4 separate regions of the Homo sapiens genome follow, and regions 1, 2 and 4 are each linked to region 3. Evidence: promoter capture Hi-C in 16 types of primary human blood cells and fetal thymus (Javierre and others, 2016). All regions are on one chromosome and are shown on one strand. The core of a region is centred on a gene start or on the middle of the fragment in contact, and the rest is flanking DNA. Distances in the headings are between cores, read along the strand shown. Region 1 overlaps HADH (hydroxyacyl-CoA dehydrogenase). Region 2 overlaps OSTC (oligosaccharyltransferase complex non-catalytic subunit). Region 3 holds the start of GAR1 (GAR1 ribonucleoprotein). Region 4 has its middle 36 kb from the start of OSTC.

What was found. The method cuts DNA at HindIII sites, captures the fragments that hold promoters and counts their contacts. A CHiCAGO score of 5 or more calls a contact.
Region 1: a contact is called between a fragment that was not itself captured here and the fragment with the promoter of GAR1 in region 3, in 1 of 17 cell types (total CD8 T cells). The highest score is 7.0, in total CD8 T cells.
Region 2: a fragment that was not itself captured here is called in contact with the fragment with the promoter of GAR1 in region 3 in 5 of 17 cell types (naive B cells, non-activated CD4 T cells, total CD4 T cells and 2 more); the score reaches 6.8 in naive B cells.
Region 4: a contact is called between a fragment that was not itself captured here and the fragment with the promoter of GAR1 in region 3, in 3 of 17 cell types (activated CD4 T cells, total CD8 T cells and M1 macrophages). The highest score is 6.9, in activated CD4 T cells.

The regions. Positions count from the first base shown.
Region 1 is chr4:108,032,306-108,035,298 of GRCh38, reverse strand. HADH (hydroxyacyl-CoA dehydrogenase) reads right to left here. Exons shown (of 8, transcript NM_005327.7): 7 at 2,007-2,123; 8 at 128-1,060. The coding sequence ends at 942. Among named protein-coding and RNA genes, the nearest start is that of HADH, 44 kb to the right of the region's middle. The HindIII fragment of the contact is 2,884 bases long and covers 1-2,805 here.
Region 2 is chr4:108,659,788-108,662,553 of GRCh38, reverse strand. All of the region lies in intron 3 of OSTC (oligosaccharyltransferase complex non-catalytic subunit), which reads right to left. Among named protein-coding and RNA genes, the nearest start is that of OSTC, 11 kb to the right of the region's middle. The HindIII fragment of the contact is 2,101 bases long and covers 415-2,515 here.
Region 3 is chr4:109,814,430-109,817,236 of GRCh38, reverse strand. It overlaps GAR1 (GAR1 ribonucleoprotein), which reads right to left and starts at 1,475. Exons shown (of 7, transcript NM_018983.4): 1 at 1,433-1,475; 2 at 859-1,084. The coding sequence starts at 1,072. GAR1-DT (GAR1 divergent transcript) reads left to right here and starts at 1,855. Exons shown (of 2, transcript NR_186620.1): 1 at 1,855-2,406. RefSeq lists enhancers at 730-799, 970-1,019, 1,370-1,419, 1,430-1,829, 2,000-2,099. The HindIII fragment of the contact is 3,017 bases long and covers 1-2,390 here.
Region 4 is chr4:108,684,950-108,687,649 of GRCh38, reverse strand. No RefSeq gene overlaps it. Among named protein-coding and RNA genes, the nearest start is that of OSTC, 36 kb to the right of the region's middle. The HindIII fragment of the contact is 1,924 bases long and covers 374-2,297 here.

The DNA of each region.
Region 1 (2,993 bases), core at 114-2,613, 1.8 Mb after region 3:
TTTCCTGGTAAGAAATCTGGCAGCGACGGCCCCAGGCAGGTTTTACACAAATGCCTTGTCCTGCCATTCCCTCCCCGTCACTCCCACTTTAAAAATTAACAGCAGGTCAAAGAAGAGGAGAAATAGCTTCTGCCTAAATTACCAACTTTTACTTTTATAATCATTTGAGTGTATTACAATTTTATATTATACATTTTTTTCAATTCAAATTTTCAGACTGAAACATTGTTATTTTAGTAGAGTCAATTTATAGGCAATTTGCAACAGTGATTTCTCATGGAAAAAAGACACAGACAGACAGTAATCATTCAGATCTGTGGAACTGAATGACCATGAAAACCGACCTCCTGCAAACCATGCAAACAGAGATATGCTGACCCATTCAGCAGCAGCATCTTCACGACGAGCTGAATAAAGACACATCTTATGTCATGCCCAAAATGTAGGGCAAGACTCAAAGCTGCAGGTAGTAAAATGTTCTTATAAAGGCAAGATCCAGGTGCTGCTCGCTGCAGTGCTTCACAGACTATACCACTTGCTTGCCAGTGGCTTGTGACTCTCCCACGCAGCAACAGTGAGCATGGTGCACTCGCACTCTCAGAGGAAGTACTTTCCCGTTGATGAGAGAAGGAATCTAGGCAATTCTTCACAAAAATGACAAGGTTCAAAAAACATGTTTGCTCCAAGGCACCAAGGGTGTAAAGCTGTTTAGAAAATACACAGAAATGAACAGACTAAAAAAGGGAATTATTTCTTAATGGAGAATCTATTACTGCTGTAACTGGTGTAATAATCACTTCGATAGATTACAATCAAAATGCACATTTATTAAACTGTACTGTGTGAGGGAATGTCTGACCAAAGAGCATTCCCACAGGCACTCGGGGCACTGGCTGGAAAGCGCTCTCAGGTGTTCTTCTCAGAGCCGGAGAAGCTGCACATCACTTGTATTTGTAAAATCCTTCTCCAGTCTTCTTGCCGAACTTGTTCTCTGCTACCAGCTTATTTAAGGATGGGCTGGGCTGATGTAATGGGTTCTCTGCATCCATTTCATGCCACCCTATTGAGCGGAGGGAAGAGAACTCAGGATGAAGTGCTGGGTTTATTTTTACATCTTGGCATTTCCAAGGACAAGTCTGGAGGCCTGCCTCTGATGTGGGAGAGCCCCCCAGGCATGGCGCCCCTCCGGCCACCACTGCAGAGGCACCAAGGAAGGCTGTGCTGGTGCAGCCACATCAGCCCCAAAGCTGCTGCACTGCCACCCACCTGTGCTGCCTGAAGCCTGGCCCTACTATGGTCCTCCTGCTTATCCAGTGTCTTCTCAGAAATCACTACGGCCAAAGGCCCAAGTACACTGACAGAAGCCATTAATTTGCTGGTTGGATTCATCACTGGCACAGTTAACTTTCAGAATACACGTTAAAAAATCTGCATTCCTGCCATTGGTATTTTGCATCCACATAAGATTCAAAATTTAATTCTTCAACTAGCATTCTGTGAAACTTGGGAACAGATAGCTACATTCAACTTCAGTAGTCCAGTTTTAATTATTATTTTTACCCTGTCTTCAGAGCTTTTACATTACAATGGATATATTTTTTAAAATGGATGTGTATCTTGCTTGCAATGGAGGTTACACAAATCTATTGATGTGATAACACAGTGTACCAGTGTCAATTTCCTGGGATTTAATATTGTACTATGGCTATATAACCACTGGTGGAAACTGGGTGAAGGGCACACACACAAGACCTGTCTGTGCTATATTTGTAACTTCCTGTGAATCCATAAAGGTTTTTTTTTCTTCAAGGTCACCCTGTTAAAGAGACACTAGACAGTCACATTCTTCCTTCTCCTGACATCTGTTCATGAATTCTCAACCTGGTGAGGCAGGATTTTGGAAGGTCTTTATTAAGACCCCTGCTAACTTTTTTTAAAAAGGCATTATAATTTACAGTTCAGAAAAACTACCTCAATTAAAGACAACAAAAAATTCCAATTCCTACCATCCACGATGAACTTCGTAGTATCCAGTCCGACATAATCTAGAAGCTCAAATGGGCCCATGGGGTAACCGGCTCCTAATTTCATAGCAGTGTCAATGTCTTCTTTGGATGCGTCACCTAAGGAGAAAACGGCAGCACTGGGTCACCACCACCTTTCCTTGAATTCTCCCTATCACAGGATTAGCCCCAGAATTACTAGAATTTTATATGCTTGCACAATAAAAAAAATGCCTAGACTGAGACTTTCTGGCTTGGGTAAGATTTCCTCTCTAAAGTACATGCCAAAGAGGTCATAAGACTTTGTTTTTTTTGAGACAGAGTCTTGCTCTGTCACCCAAGCTGAAGTGCAATGGCACAATCTTGGCTCGCTGCAACCTCCGCCTCCTGGGTTCAAGTGATTCTCCTGCCTCAGCCTCCCTAGTGGCTGAGACTACAGGTGTGCGCCCCCACACAAGGCTAATATTTATATTTTTAGTAGAGATAGGGTTTCACCATTTGGCCAGTCTGGGCTCAAACTCCCAACCTCAAGTGATCCTCCCGTCTCAGCTTCCCAAAGTGCTAAGATTACAGGTGTAAGCCACAGTGTGTGGCCCAAGATTTTCAAAGCTACGCACCACTGAGGTGAATTTTGGAGTACTGATACCCTGTTCATGGAGACAGAAGTCTCCATGCCTGAAACTTCAGCTACTTTCAAATACATTGGGATTTTCCAACTCTGGAATCATTTATTAAAGTATAATTTAATGCTACAGCATATTTTTGATTTATAAATAAACTTTCTTAAAAAGAAAACTAAGCTTTCTGCTTTTGTATGTATAGTTATTGTATGTATTCTTTCCCCCAGTTTTTTGGGTTTTACAAGTAAGGAGTATTCCCCTGGCATCACATTTCACACAAACCTTTTAGTCAAGATACCTTTTAAAGAAAAGCCCAAACCCGAGTTAGAATCACCACACGTTTGGAAGTCTGTTGAGTAGACTACGACAA
Region 2 (2,766 bases), core at 216-2,715, 1.2 Mb after region 3:
ACAAGTGACAAGCCAGTGAAATCAACAAAACTGAAAAGTAGTACTATGCATAACAGAAATGTAAAATGACCTCAGTGGAGAAGGTTAAATTATGTTTAATCTCAGTGTCCAGCAAGTAACAGTTATCAAATAAATATTTGCTACATACAAATATGAGTGTTAACGTGTAATACAACACAACAAACGCTTTAGAAAGAGGGTCTGTCGAAAATGAATACAATGTTTTAGTATTTATGTATTTTCAATTACATGGAATCACATATATGCAGCATATCATTCCCTAAATGATGTTAGTTTAAATATTATTACATTCATATTTTTTATTCCTTTCTCCCTTTAAGAGAACTTGTTTTCTGAACTGATCCCATGATCTCAGGATTTATCCAGAAGATCCTTAGCTTTTCTTCTCAAGCTTAATAAACACTAGGTGAAATTGCTAAAAAGCCATTTTTGCCAGCTGAAATAAGGCAGACCTTTTGTCCTCAATTATCTGATAGTATCTATTTCAAGTAGTTTTATACAGCTTTATAACAGACTTGCCTGAATGTAGGAACCCATCCCTCCATCTCCAATTGAACACCTCACCTGACTTTAGGGCATTACCACGCCACCACAGGCCACCTTTTATTTTTATTTTTTTTAAGATTCTGCTTTTGGCCAGGCATGGTGGCTCACGCCTGTAATCCCAGCACTTTGGGAGGCTGAGGCAGGCAGATCACTTGAGGTCAGGAGTTCGAGACCAGCCTCTGCCAAAATGGCAAAACCTCATCTCTACTAAAAATACAAAAATTAGCCTGGCATGGTGGCACATGCCTGTAATCCCAGCTACTCGGGAGGCTGAGGCAGGAGAATGGCTTGAACCTGGGAGGCGGAGGTAGCAGTGAGCCGAGACCGCGCCATTGCACTCTAGCCTGGGTGATAAAGCAAGACTGTCTCAAAAAAGGAAAAAAGAAAAGAAAAGAAAAAGATTCTGCTTTTAAGTTAAAGCTGCCCTAAGAGTGGAGGCTAAAGACAATCTAATGAAGATTCATTATTTTTTCAGAAGAATCAAGTTCAAACGTGTACCAGTCTTCTACTCAGTAACCGAACATTATTTCCTTTGAGTCTATGTATATTTAAAATGCAGTGAACATACAGACGCATACATACATGATTTCACATACATTATCTCATAAATTATATTAGAATATTTTCATTTTCACAATGAAAATTACTCCTTTGAGACTGTACTAATAAAAATATTAGGGACTACGTTTAATTTTTTCCTTTTAAATGTACTGCTATGTGTGCAAAGCTAATAAACAATCATTCTTTATTCTTTTTTTTTTTTTTTTTTGAGATGGAGTCCCACTCTGTCACCAAGCCTGGAATGCAGTGGCACAATTTCGACTCACTGCAACCTCTGCCTCCTGGGTTCATGCAATTCTCGTGCCTCAGCCTCCCAAATAGCTGGGATTACAGGCGTGCACTACCACGCCCAGCTAATTTTTTTATTTTTTAGTAGAGACTGGTTTTCACCACGTTGACCAGGCTGGTCTTGAACTCCTGACCTCAAGTGATCTGCACACCTCGGCCTCCCAAAATGCTGGGATTACAGGCCTGAGCCACTGTGCCCAGCCAACAGTCATTCATTTTCGACGTTTCTTCAAAACTCAAGACATCAAATAAAACATGTTTTAATTAGTAAAATTATATCAATAGGGGAAACATCAGGTCTTTCAAAAAAGCATAAATCAGAAAACAGAACCAGTAATACTGTTTCAGTGCTACTGTTTTCTCCTTTTCAAAGGCATCTCTTGCTAAAGGTAACATCTTTGTAAAAAAGAATTCCACCCTGGAGGTTATCATGGTGCATCTTATGATACAGCCATCCTTTATCTCAGATGCTAGAAACATAGTTGATTTGGAAAAACCAGTGGCTATTGGTGTTTTTTTGACATCTTTTTTATTGTTGTGGTTAGTCCACTCACTATAATCAAACTGTTAGGTCATCATAGATAATTTGCATGAAAGAAGAAAGATACACCCTTTCCTTGCTGGGATAGTAACTACAACCCTGTTGTGTGTAATACAGGCCAACAGTCCTTGCTCATCATCTCCTCTGGGGCCTGCAAATATTCCAGGAAAGATAGTATCATTACTTCCATTTCTTATATAAAACTGTCCATTGTCTCTCCTCACTCCATACCCAAGGTACCAGGCATTAGGAGCTGCAGATGAGAAATGATATCAGAAAGGGAACCATAAATTCATCTTAAAAACTCAAATCCTAGATTTACAAGATACAGAAAATAGCAATTTTCTGTTTGGACCACTGTCCTGTTTTGATTAGATCTAAACATAATCTACAACCGAAACCCAGAAAGTATACCCTTTTTCCCTAGCCTAAAGTTTGGATTTAGTCAACGGTGTTACATACTAGCCTATAGAATGTGGACAGGAAGACAAATGTTCACATAAATGATTGCAAAAGTAAGATGAAGGTAATCCAGAGTATTAAACACTTGTCAAAGCTTTTCTGTCAGTAGCAGATAGCTCTATTATCCTGAAAGTCAAATGCCAAAGCTAAAAGATAACACCTATTTTCTTAATAGACTCATTCCTAGGAAGAGGACGTAAAACTATAAAGAAGGAAAACACTATGTAGAATGAAAACAGTAGGTAGAATGAGAACATATTTGATTCTATAAGCAAAACCAGGACACTTTCTCTGTTCTGACACATGCCTCCAAAGGTTTCTTTTGTTTTGGTTGTAAATTTTCTTTT
Region 3 (2,807 bases), core at 226-2,725:
ATCTCTCTCCTATCTAACCCTTCCTTTTTTTTCCTCACTGTCACCATCCTGATTCAGGCTCTCAAGGTCTCATGTATGGACTGGTACAACAGCTTGTGGGCTGGGACCTTTTATTCTAGAAACTGCTCCTTTCAAACCATCCTGCATACTCATCCAAGCCATTCTTAGTTAGACACTACTCACCCTCTCTCCTCTTTAATGTAGTAAGTTTCACTTTCTGTGACTTCCATTCCCATCTCATTGTTAATTACTCTAAAACTACCCTAAATAGGTGTTTTTCTAGATTTCCTCTCTGGCAGTTTCCCTCTCAAGCAAATTGTTTTCTCACTTATCTACTTTTGAGTAGTAACAGAAAGCATGGGCTTTGGAGTCAGAATACTTGGCTTTGTATTTCTTTCTTTTCTGTACAGACAGGGTCTCCTGCTTTATTATCCAGGCTGGTCTCTAACTCCCGGCTTCAAAAGATCCTCCCGTCTTAGCTTCCCAAAGTGTTGGGATTACAGGCGTGAGCCACCGCACCCAGCCTGTATTTCAGCTATATCACTAATTGATCACTTATCACTAACCTTATGACCCCAGCAAAAAAACTTAACTCTAAATCATAGTTTTCTCATCTGTAAAATCGGGGAATTAGGCATAAGTACTCACGATTACCTATTTAATATCTTCCTGTCAACCCTCAAGTTCCACCTCCAAGATGCATTCTAAGTATCCCTCAGCTTTCTTGATCTCCCCACTCCACCCTTACATGCTACATTCTCCACACAGGCTTGTGTATCCCAAACTTGCTGCCTAACAACACAAACCCCCAACCCACACCTACTCCTTCAAATAAGCTAAATACTGAAGACTGCATACAGACTACACGTTCTGGAGGTCCTTGGTCTTGGCCTTTGTTAAAGCCTCCGCGGCCACCCCCTCGTCCAAATCCTCCCCTGCCGCCGCCTCTGAAATTGCCGCCGCCTCCACCGCCGCCTCCACCTCGGAAGTGGTTGCTGCTGCCACCTCGGTTGAAGCCGCCACCTCCACCACCTCGATTAAAGCCTCCACGACCTCCGCCTCGAAAAGACATTCTCTCTCCTCCCTGATGAAAAAAAAACGACCTATGTCTTCTGATCACTGTAGCCTCTGAGTATACTCCAACCCCTCGGAGCTGCGGTGAGAACACCATAAAGGAGACAAAAGCAGCCCTGTCACCTCACCCACGGTCAGACAGCCAGTGACCACCAACCTGATGGGTGAAGAGTTTACTTCTCCATGGTCTCGTGAGCGCCGACCGACCACACACCACCCTTGCCGCCCCATGATTAGTATCTCCTCCCCCTACAGACAGCAAGGTCTTCGCACCGCATCCCCTTCCTTCCTCCCTCCCTCCGGCAGTTGGGTTCCACGTCCAGCATTTTCAAATCCTCCGGCTTCTACGGCCACTCACCGGCGCCACGTGCCCCTCTGGCCCTGGCCTTGCGCACACACCCACCCGCGGGGTACTTCCGCCGCGCTGGAACCTCCTCGGTTACCGTACCGCCACAGAGTTTTTTAAAGACCAGAAACTTGAATAACTGGTTTGCCAAAAAAAAAAGCCAATCACCCGCGGAACAAGCAACACTGGTTCCAAAACAGCCTTTAGCGCTGGAAAAGTGGCAATAATAGATAACCTTAACCACTAATTTACAACAGAGAGGCCAACTTGCCTGACGCTGAGCCGTGGAAGTGACGTATAACAGCGGCGTCCTTTGCAGCACGACGTCCCGGAAGTGCTGCGGCAATGTTGCTCTTGGAGATAGCTGGCGTTAGGGATCCGCCTTCTCTCCCAGAGGCGGGGCAGGTTTCTGTTTGGTTGCCGCCCTAACGGCCAGAACTAAAGCACCTTGCAAGGAATGAAGTTGGTTCTTGAAGTCCGTGCTGACTGGCTGGGCGCATTTGCGCATTTGCTTCTCTGGCTGCAAAATGGCCCGCAACAGCACTCACTAATTTGTTGCTAACTTCAGGAACTGTGCGGACAGGTCTCTGAGGCTTCTGAGCCGCGCTATGTCCAGTAGATCTGGGCGCCTCAGAACCTGTCACAGCCGACGGAAGCGTTTATCTGAGTTTCTTGTTTCTTCCCAACCTTTTGATTTTCGCACCATTACGCGCTCAACTATGCCTCTTCTTTTGTCCTATGGTCTCAACTAATTAAAGGAAGAAAAGCAATGCATGTGTGTGTGTAATTTTAAAGAAACTATGCTGTCTTATAGAAAACCAAACCATCATTTTTATCTTTTGTACCAGGTATTCAAGTATGTTTTGAGCACCGACGGGCTGTGAACTGGACTGTGCTGAAAGCTCCTCTCCCTCTTCTCTCTTTAAGCCCTTTATATTTGACATCAGCTTCCCCCACATTCTCCAAAGCTTCTCTCACAAATAAAGGTAATGACTTCCCATTTATTAAATTTGGTTGGAGTCTTTTACACCCAAACCCTCTGAGACCTTACCTTGATATTTGATCTCGTGTTTAGAAGAGGGTGGAACTTGGTACCTATCTAATTCAGAGGGTTATTGTAAATGGGATTTTAAAATACCTTTGTAGGCGGGGCGTGGTGGCTCACGCCTGTAATCCCAGCACTTTGGGAGGCCAAGGCAGATGGATCACTTGAGATCAGGAGTTCGAGACCAGCCTGGCCAATACGGTGAAACCCCTTCTCTACTAAAAATACAAAAATCAGCCGGGCATGGTGGCACACGCCTGTAATCGCAGCTACTCGGGAGGCTGAGGCAGGAGAATCGCTTGAACCCGGGAGGCGGAGGTTGCCGTGAGCCGAGATCACGCC
Region 4 (2,700 bases), core at 86-2,585, 1.1 Mb after region 3:
GCGAGACTCCGTCTCAAAAAAAAAAGATTAGTTCAAGTTATAAAGAGGAATAGACAATGAGTAAGAAAGTTGTCAGGGAAGATATTTGGCAGAAAAAATTAACTCCAATTGTCCTGAGATGCTTAGATGCTTATAGCAAATCAGCCAATTCTTATATTTTCCTGAAGGGTTACATTGAGCAATTCATTGAATATTTATTGAGCATGTATTATGTCCAGGCACTGATCTATGTCTTGCCTTCATGTAGCTTATATTCTAATCTAGATAAATAAAATGAACAAGGCAATTATATAGTATGATAAACAGCACTGAGTGCTATGGAAAAGAAATTAGAAAGGTAGAAGCTGTAATTTTTAAACAGAGAAGGAAAGCTTCATTGAGAAATGACCTTTGAACAAAGACTTGAAGGAAATGAGGGAATGAGCCATCTGGGTAGAGGGAGAGGAAAGGCCATGAGGCAGGGTGTGATTGGTGTGTTTGAGGAACAGTAAGGAAGGCAGTATGGACAGAATGAACTGGAGGACTAGGAGATGAGATCAAAGGATGGAGAGGGGGAAGAGGCGATGTACAGGGCCTTTGGGGCCACTATTAGGAGTTGGGCTTTTATCATGAAGATTTTATCTGAAAGATTTTAATCAGAGGAATAAAACTTTAGCCAATCAAATCAGGAAGTGGCTTTGGTGAGTAGAGCCAAAACAGTGGGAAATGAGTGAACCTAAAACGTCTCTTAAAGAAGAGTTTGAGGCACTTCTTTCCTTTACTGAAATAATCTTGCAAAGGCTCCTTCTAATCTGGACAGTGCAGGAGAAACCTTGGTTTGGGGGATTTTCTTTTTATGGTCTGGCCTGATCCTCCTGCTTCTATCTCCTGTCTATCTGCAGACCCACCACAGCACAAGTGAACAGATCCCGGGGATCAAACGTAGCTCACCTTGATTGGAGTTGGGTGTTCCCCAAATTTTCAGTTCCACATTATTATGATTTCTCAGCTTATAATCCAAGATAGCGAATCACCTCTATTTTAGGAACATTTTACCAGCTTCATAAAGGGGTTCTCGTTTCTCATTTTTCTAAGTTTATAGTATAGCTTACCTCATTACTGAAGCCATGAACCACCTATATGAGTAAATTTCCTTGATTTATCCTCTTCTCATGCCTGAATTTAGTAAAATGAAATATAAAAGCTGCATTATCAAAAGAAACATATGTACATATAATCTTGCACATACAGTTTGGGTAGAATTAAACTAACATGCTTCCAAAGGGAAGTTATATGAAAAAATACTTTTCTAAATTTCAAATAAATGAGGCCATGTTAAATATCTATAATTAGTCATAGGTAAAGCAATGAACATACCCTTTGTAAACTTTAAAGCATTCTCCAAAAGTTATTTCTATATAAGTCCCCAAACATATGTCAAGATAGATATAAGATATATGTAATATATAATATTATATATTTTTTGGCCATGGTGGCTCACACCTGTAATCCCAGCACTTTGGGAGGCTGAGGTGGGCGATCACTTGAGGTCAGGAGTTCCAGATCAGCCTGGCCAATGTGGTGAAACCCCATCTCTACTAAAAATACAAAAATTAGCTGGGCATGGCGGTGCGTGCCTGTAGTCCCAGCTACTCGGGAGGCTGAGGCATGAGAATCACTTGAACCTGGGAGGAGGAGGTTGCAATGAGCAGGGATTGCACCACTGTACTCCAGCCTGGGTGACAGAGTGAGACTCTGTCTTAATAATAATAATAATAATAATAATAGATACTAACCATTGTGCATATTGCTCAGATGCAAAGGCAAGTGAGACTAAACTGATAAAACTTCTAAGTGCTACGACAAGTGGGTATGAATATATAGCTAGAGGTATGGTGCAGAAAATTTTGTAAAGTAACTAAGAAATAGAATCAGACCCTGAACTTAGGCACTTTCCAATCTAGTCAACTCTTTTTTAAAAAATATTAAAAGATTATTATTCCTTTGAGGCCAAATAAGGACACGTTCCTAGAAGACCCCGTTGTGGTTAGGAGCAGAGGCTATGGATCTCTACTGCAGGCTTGCCACCTAGGACCTGTGCAATCTTTGGCAAGTGACTTAATCTCTCTGAACCTCAGTTTTCTCATCTATGAAATGGCCTTAGTTGTACTATCTCATAGCATTTTATGAGGATGCAGTGAGTTAATATGAAAAGTGCTTGGAACAATATCTGGCATACAGTATTCTCTTAATAAATGTTATGCTCTTAATAAATGTTAGCTATTTTTATTACCCATATTTCCTTGAACAACAAAGCTTTTCACAATCAAAGAATAGCTTCTCAAGGAGAAGAATTAGGGGTTAAAAGGGTTAAAAGTTCTGAAGAATGAATCAGCATTTTTCTCTCCCTTGTCTTTCCCTGTCTGTTTAGCAACACTGATTAACAGCTCAGAGGAAGAGGTCCAGAATGAACTTGAATGACAAGGAAAACAACTAATCTTCCCTAGGCAATATCCTTATTAAAGTTTCACTTTAGTAACAACCAGGTTTTCACTGAGACAGGTTGGTTGGGGTGGGGTGGGTAGAAAAGGAAAAAGTAGGCCAGGCACGGTGGCTCACGCCTGTAATCCCAGGACTTTGGGAGGCTGAGGCAGGCGGATCACCTGAGGTCAGTAGTGCGAGACCAGCCTGGCCAACATGGTGAAACCATGTCTCTACTAA